Regions from separate parts of the Homo sapiens genome. Here region 2 is linked to region 1. The links are contacts of gene promoters, found by promoter capture Hi-C in blood cells and fetal thymus (Javierre and others, 2016). All regions are on one chromosome and are shown on one strand. The core of a region is centred on a gene start or on the middle of the fragment in contact, and the rest is flanking DNA. Distances in the headings are between cores, read along the strand shown.

Region 1 (3,986 bases), core at 1-2,500:
CTAAGTTACGATGCTGAATTTCTATCTCAGGATCTCCCACATAGTTTGTCTCAGAATCTACCCACCATGTCACCTCCAGCAGTTTGCTTTCCCCTCCTTGTCTGCAGAGGGTGGGACTTTGAGGTCCTTCCCAGAGGGAGTGTTCTGGGCCATAGGATCACATTGTGTAACACAATGTTGTCTTCTTGACCTCTGCTGGGGTCTTCCAGTGGCACAAGGTGCTGCTTTCCTTGCCTGTGCCCAGGGGCCTCCCAAATATTCCCACCTCCCTCCCCTTGATTCCACTGGGGCCTGTCTTTCTGAAACGTATTAGAAATCAGCTCACGTGACATTTTCCTCCCTCCCTCTCTTCCATGAGCCTGAATGATAGGATGTGGCCATTTGTCAAACTCTAGAACGTCAAAGCAAAAGGACATGGCAGGGATTATTCGGTCCAAACTTCCGGTTTACATATGTGGATCCTAGGTTCAGAGGCCCGGCCAGTTAGTGGCAGGGCAGTGGGTATCCTAAGCTCAGGGCTCCTGTCTCTAAGCTCAACCCTTGCCAGTACATTGCATGGCCTTTAAGAATTCCCCGTCACCACCGCACACTGTAGTCCCTCTTACTTGAGTTGCTGGGTGAGTTCAGATTTCTGGAGATGTTCCACGGCCTCCTTGGCATTGTTGCTCAGCTGGCTGAAGTAGTCCCACATCACCGTGGCCACCTGGTCAGCACTGACCTCAGCCCTGGCTCCTGGGTGGTAACAGAGAGCAATTCATGAGGCCCCGTCTCCTGTGTGGCCCCTCTGCTCCAGCTCTGAGCTGCAGACTGGATGATGGTGGGGGTGCCTCAACCTGCCATTTTCCCTGTCTGAGCTTAGCTTTTTGGAAGCCACAGGGATATGTGAAACTGGTATAGCACCAATGCCAATGGGCCCACCACTGGGACTGGGCCAGCTCTCCTGTGAGCCACTTGGCAGCCAGGCAGACCTCATGTCCAGCTGGGGGCTGATGGGCACTCAGAAGTGTCCTTTTGCTTTGGCTCAGCCTCCATCCTGCACTACTCAGAGCAGCAGCCCAGGAGTGCCATCCAAAGACAGCTTCTACTCACCGGCGACAGCCACCAGGGCCAGGGTCAGGACCACGGCCTTCAGGAACATCCTGAGCTGCTTGCTGGGCTGGAGGAGTTTCTTGCCACACTGGATCCTCCCTACAATCAGGGGAGCTGACAGAGAGGTCCTCAGGAGAGCTCACCTGCGCTGCAGTGGGAACTGACTGAAGCTCAGAGCCAGCCAGACATTTAAACTCTCTCCCTATCGCCACCCCCCTGGCTGCCCTCCCCTCCTCCTTCCTCAGTGTGACTCCACGCTGGAAGGTGACACATTCCCAAGAGGCCTCTTGGACTTTTGTGACCCTGAGACTACGTGGAAGCTGACAGCAGATCAGGGCTCAGGCGATAGTTAGAAGTGGTGGCTGTTCCGTGCGTGGGCACCCCCACCCCCACCCCACCAACCTCAGCATGGAAGGGAGGAGGGGAACGGAAAACAGTAGGAGAAACACCTCAGGGAGCCCATGAGCCCGGGACTGATGCCTCGAGGCCCTGCTGGCGGCTCTGGGTTTGTGCCGGGCTCATGGGGGGCAAAGTCCACATCTCCTCTGTCTACCCCAGTGAAGACAGGTCCCCCCAGTCTCCACATCCGCCACTAATGCTGACTCCATCTCAGAGCACCAGACACTGGAGTGGGACCATCCAGGACTGCAGACAGCATAGTGAGCTAAAATCTAGGTCTCTTGTCAAGGTACACCCAAGAGGAGGGGGCCCTGGAGAGCCTTTGGGCAGATGGGTGTGGGAGACAGGGCCTTGTCCTGAAAGGGTTAATTGTAGAGTGCTTCATGTCCCACTCCCATGCTGTGCCTCCTTGGTCTAGTTATTCAAAGCCCTGAGCTTCAGTTTCTCCTCTGAACAATGGGATGGTTCAGTACATTAAAGAAGACATTGCTTGCGAAGTGGGTAGTACGGTCATCTCTCAGTCTCCATGGGAAATTGATTCCAGGACCCTCTGCAGATACCAAAATCCATGGATGTTCAAGTCCTTGATATAAAATGGCATAGTATTTGCATATAACCTAAGCACAGCCTCCCACATACTTTAAATCTCTAGATTACTTATAATACCTAATACGACGGAAATGCTGTGTGAATGGTTGTTATACTGTATTGTTTAGGAGGTAATCACCAAAAAAGTCTGTATATGTTTAGTACAGGTGCAATTTTTTTTTTTTTTGAGATGGAGTCTTACTCTGTCACCCAGGCTGGAGTGCAGTGGCACGATCTTAGCTCACTGCAATCTCTGCCCCCCAGGTTCAAGTGATTCTCCTGCCTCAGCCTCCTGAGTAGCTGGGATTACAGGCACCCACCACCACGCCCAGCTAATTTGTGTATTTACAGCAGAGACGGGGTTTCACCATGTTGCTCAGGCTGGTCTCCAACTCCTGGCCTCAAGCAATCCTCCCATGTGGGCCTCCCAAAGTGCTGGGCTTATAGGCGTGAGCCACTGCGCCCTGCCCAGATGCAATTTTTTTAAAACATTGTTTTTAATGGAGATGGGGTGTCGCTATGTTGCTCAGGCTGGTCTCCAACTCCTGGCCTTAAGTGATCCTCCAATCTCTGCCTCCTAAAATGCTGGGCTTACAGGCATGAGCCACTGCACCCGGCCCACAGATGCAATTTAAAAAAAAAAATATATATATATATATATATATATTTTTTTTTTTTTTTTTTTTTTTGAGATGGAGTCTTGCTCTGTCACCCAGGCTGGAGTGCAGTGGCACGATCTCGGCTCACTGCAAGCTCTGCCTCCCGGGTTCACGCCATTCTCCTGCCTCAGCCTCCCAAGTAGCTGGGACCATAGGCGCCCGCCACCACGCCCGGCTAATTTTTTTTTTTTTTTTTGTATTTTTAGTAGAGATGGGGTTTCGCCGTGTTAGCCAGGATGGTCTCGATCTCCTGACCTCGTGATCCGCCCGCCTCAACCTCCCAAAGTGCTGAGATTACAGGCGTGAGCCACCACGCCCGGCCTAAAAAATTATTTTCAATCCAAGGTTGGTTGAATCCATGGACACAGAAACCAAGGATACAGAGGGCTGCCTATAGAGCTCCTGGCACAGAGTAAGCTCTGAAAAATAGTTGCTGTTATTATAATAATCATACTGTATAATAATCATACTGTGTTCCTGATTTGGAGCAAAGCAGGGAGGGTAGCAGAGTGCTCCCTCCTCTAGTGAGAGTGGCAGAGTGAGACTCAGCCCTCTGAGGGGCGCCAGGTGGGCCAGAGGCAGGGTGATGGGTGGGACCAGCCTGAGGCCTGACTCCTGCCCTTCTTGCCCCCCAGCCACACTCCCTGGGCAGGAGCAGCTGGCTTGAGCAGAATCTTGGGACCTGAGGCTCTCAGGGGACCTCCCATTGGGGGATGGAGGGCAATGGTGGTGGTGCCCAGGAGGTCTTCTACTTAGATGTCTATTGGATCTCTAAATGAGGCTGCATGCATAATCACACACAAACATCCACTGAGAAGGTGACACACCACGTCAGCATGGGTCCCTCTGCCGGACCACACCACTCCTAGTGACTATGAGGTGACATCCAGGCACGTTGCACTATTGGCTCCTGTCGGTGAGTGCAGTGCCTGACAACAGTGAGCTACATTTATTTGTAAAAATGAACGCCATCAGAGTAGACCACAATTGTACTAACTCTAATTTGCTTTGTGTTCATTTTTTCAGTTTCCAGAAGTGGCTTAATGTTTCCTAGGGTCAAAGGCAGTCAAATGACCTCCTGACTCTGGCACCCCTTCTGCTGGGTCCCCACTGCCCTGTAGTGGTCCCCACGCTACCATGCTGCCTCCTTTTTGATGCAGCCTGTGCCATCTCTCCGTGATTGTTGGGGTCAGATGCTGGAGTCCACTCCCTGGCTTGGCATCCAGGCTCCAACACGTACTGCCTGTGTGT
Region 2 (3,921 bases), core at 596-3,095, 130 kb after region 1:
GTCTCTTGATTATCAAAATAATTACTACCTTGGAAAACTAAGTCTACAATCCTATTAGAATAGAAAAGAGGTAGGTTTTGATTGATCCAAGAAGCAGTCCTTTGCCATAACAATTTATAACATGATCACAGAAACTAGTATTCAAATAATGCTATTAAAAAAATGTTATATTCATCTCTAACTTTTCACCTCTCTAAATTCTCTTCTTTTTGAGTTTCCCATCCTGTGTTAGAACTCTGAACTAAATAAAATAAATTCTCATCATCTTCTGAATTAACATTTTGTGTAGTTGTTGCTAAGAATGGCATCAAATTTTAAAGAACAAATTAAAAAGACCTACCTGGGTAAGGAAAACGTACTAGTAAATGGCCAGGGGAAACTTGAGGATACTAAGTGCTGAGCGCGTAAACAGAAGGGTAGGAAAGATAGCAGGATTAACATAGAAACAAAAAAAGTCACAGATGTTCACCCACCCACATTTCTTCAAAGGGAGCCATACATACAATATTCTGGGTTCTTTGCAGCTATCTGCTATACACTAATGATCCTACCTGGTAGAGCCTGATGATATGGGGGTGGCAAAGCATCTTCATAATTTGAACTTCCCGGAAAATCTTCTTCAAGTTTTCTTCATCCAGCTGGGTCTTATCTATGATCTTGATAGCAACCTGACAACAGAGGGAAAAAAATTACTCTGATGCATTATTAAAAGCAGTTTACTAAGAAAAATTAGGTTCACTTTAAAACATTACGTTCCATAAAATATAAGCTGCCAGTATTCTGTTTACAGAATGTCAATGAGGAAAATTAATTTACTCTTTTTAAAAAGATAGGAAATGGATTCCTAGCAAGTTGGTCTCAAAGGAACAGACTCCAAAAGCTAATGGGTCTTCTGCCATTTCTTCAATTGCTTATACGGTAAAATCCTATGAAAAAATACTTTATTACTCCATAGATGTCGTTACGGTCTGGGTCAAATCATGTTTCAGTGCAGAGTGGTATACAGGGTCTCTCATTAAGACAAGAAGCTTTAAATAAAATAAAAAATTTTTAAAAAGGCAAGAAGCTTGTATCATAAATACATGGTGTCTTACTAAGGTTCTATGAGAACTTTCACAGGGGCTTTACACATCTCACCAGATGCTTGTAGAACTCAATAATAATAATAATAGTAGCAGTGATGGTGGTGGCAGCAGCAGTAGCAGCATCTACCATATACGAAATGTTTACTATGGGCCAGGCATAACTCTTAGTGGTTTGGAAGTACTAACTCATTTAAACCTCCTAACACCCACCTTATCATTAACCTTGCTTTAGAAATACAGAAACTGAGGCACACAGAGATTAAGTAATTAACCCAAGATTAAGTAATTTACACCTAGTATGTGGCAGGTGCAGGATTGAAGCCTAGGTAGCTTGGCTTTAGAATCAAATTCTTAATAAGAATGTTATAAGAATCTGAAGATCTTTCTTTAGCATACATGCACTGCATCATAAAACATATCTTTCCAATGTGCCCCCTTTTAATAAGATACTCATCAGCAAATACATTTTAATGAAGAATGAACGATGAAGGACTTTTAAAAATTTACTAAATCTAAACTTCCTCAGTGAAATACTTAAAATATTTGTGTTGCTCCAAAATATGTCTATATCTCAGTTTCAATTATGTAATCAGTATGGAAGCAATACTGGTTAGATGAAGAACCTAGACTAGTCAAACTCTAGTCCTCTCCAAATCTTAACATTCTAAGATTCTATGCACCAGAGAGGTAAAGGGAACATATACAGTACTTACTGAGGAAAAAATCAGGAAAACAAAATTACAAAAGTAAAAATGTTTAGCTCAGAGAAATAAAGACTGTTTGGAGCCATACGTGGCAGATTATTCAGATGTATAAATGGCTGGCATAAAAGTAACTTTATCTGAAGCTGTTTCAGGTGTTAAAATGAGGACCCACGGGAGAAAGGCACAGGGAGATAAATTTCAGCTGTACTCAAAGAGCATTCAAGCCATGCCTAACGAGGGAGTGTGATGAAAGGAGCTGGGTGTGGCTGGAGCTACAAGGATTAATCAGACACAGCCTAAACTTCAAGGAGATCACAGTCTAAAAAGGAAAAAAGATGTGTGGAACTGAAAACAATGCAGCATTGGAAGTACAAGCAATGGAGCTATGTACCAGGTATAACAACAGACAGAGGATGGTGAATGACCTTCACCTACAGGAGAAGAGGTAGAAAAAGTCTGGGAAAGACTTGACAAAGAAAGCAGAATTTCACTACAGAGAGAACTGGGATAGGCAGAGAAGAAGGTAGAGAATTTAATGAGGATCTCACCAGCTGCTTGGTTTCCTGTAAGAAGTCTTGGATAATATAACCCTTGACCACCTGCATTTCTACTTCTCCTCATTACTGCACCAGATCACATACAAGACCTTAACTCCACAACTGGTCTAGCATCTGCTCCTGCTTCTCTCAGGACAGCTCCCAAAACAACAACAAAAAAAATCATGGTACACAATGTCTCTTCCTAGAACAAATAGCTTGGTCTTAATAGTCATTATTAATAAAATCTTACATGTGAATGGCACCTTGTAATGTACAGAATGCTTTCATAAATATAACAAGCTTAGAAACTTGCAGATATATCCCCATAGCAGAGCTGCCAAACAGCTGTAATCCCAGCACTTTCGGAGGCCAAGGAGGGCAGACTGATTGAGTCCAGGAGTTCAAGACCAGCATGGGCAATATGGTGAAACCCCATCTCTACTAAAAAACTTTTTAAAAATTAGCCGAGCATGGTAGCATGTGTCTGTAGTCCCAGCTACTCAGGAGGCTGAGGTGGAAGGACAGTTTGATCCCGGGAGCTGAAGTTGCAGTGAGCTATGATCGTGCCAGCAACAGAATGAGACCCTGTCTCAAAAGAAAAAAAAAGAACTTCCAAACAAGTGTGTTGGAAATGGGTTACAAGCAATAATGGATCACCTCCAATCTCAACTTTCTGTGCATGCCATGATGTGCAAAAGGTGGGAAGAACTGCTAGGATTTATTTACCTTAATAACAGAGGGCATCAACTGTCTAAGGCCTGTGCCTGAAATCTTCCACCTCTGCCCACCCCCTACTAATTGATGGCATGTACAATGTAACTGGGGAAAAGCGGGTGACCTTCAGGTTAACTTATGAAATTTGTGCATTCTTTCACCTCCAAGAGATCACAGGGAGTCATATAGTGGGGCCTCCCTGATTCACAAGGCACTCACTCTAAATTTCATTTGCATTCTGAAGCAATAGGATCTTCATAATGGTAAACAGAGATTGTGTGGCTCCCAGTCAGCCACACAATCACGTGGGTAGATAACAATAGAGTGAATTAAATGCATTTCTGACTTACCATATTTTCAACTTATAATGGGTTTATTGGGACGTAACCCATCATAAGTCAAGAAATATCTGTACTAGCAATAATGCCTTTTGTTGGCTATAATTAACAATAATTTATTACATATTTCAAAATGGCTGAAGGAGATTTGAAATGTCACCAACAGAAAGACATGATAAATGTTTGGGGTAATGGATATCCTAATTACCCTGATTTGATCATTACATGTTGTATCCATGCAGCAAAATATCAAATGTACCCCATAAATATGTACTATAATAAATAAATACATACATACATGAATTTTACAAACAAATGTACTTCATCTTTTCAGGAAAAATTGCATTGAATATAATCTGTTCTTAGAAGGCACGTACAAAGAAGTTTTAATAGATTAAAACATCAAACTCCTGTCTACTCTTCAGTGAGAGTTCAGATTCCAGAAGACATTGAAAAGTGAAGCTTTGGGCCAGGCACGGTGGTTCACGCCTGTAATTCCAGCACTTTGGGAGTTAAAGGCAGGCGGATGGCTTGAGGCGAG

What was found. Contacts are between HindIII fragments. The CHiCAGO score rates a contact against its expected background, and 5 or more counts as called.
Region 2: a fragment that was not itself captured here is called in contact with the fragment with the promoter of APOA4 in region 1 in 1 of 17 cell types (activated CD4 T cells); the score reaches 5.0 in activated CD4 T cells.

What each region holds. Positions count from the first base shown.
Region 1 is chr11:116,822,054-116,826,039 of GRCh38, forward strand. It overlaps APOA4 (apolipoprotein A4), which reads right to left and starts at 1,251. Exons shown (of 3, transcript NM_000482.4): 1 at 1,090-1,251; 2 at 606-732. The coding sequence starts at 1,138. RefSeq lists enhancers at 3,239-3,605, 3,460-3,754. The HindIII fragment of the contact is 18,172 bases long and covers 1-3,986 here.
Region 2 is chr11:116,956,397-116,960,317 of GRCh38, forward strand. It overlaps SIK3 (SIK family kinase 3), which reads right to left. Exons shown (of 25, transcript NM_001366686.3): 2 at 552-668. Among named protein-coding and RNA genes, the nearest start is that of APOA1, 120 kb to the left of the region's middle. The HindIII fragment of the contact is 1,562 bases long and covers 1,065-2,626 here.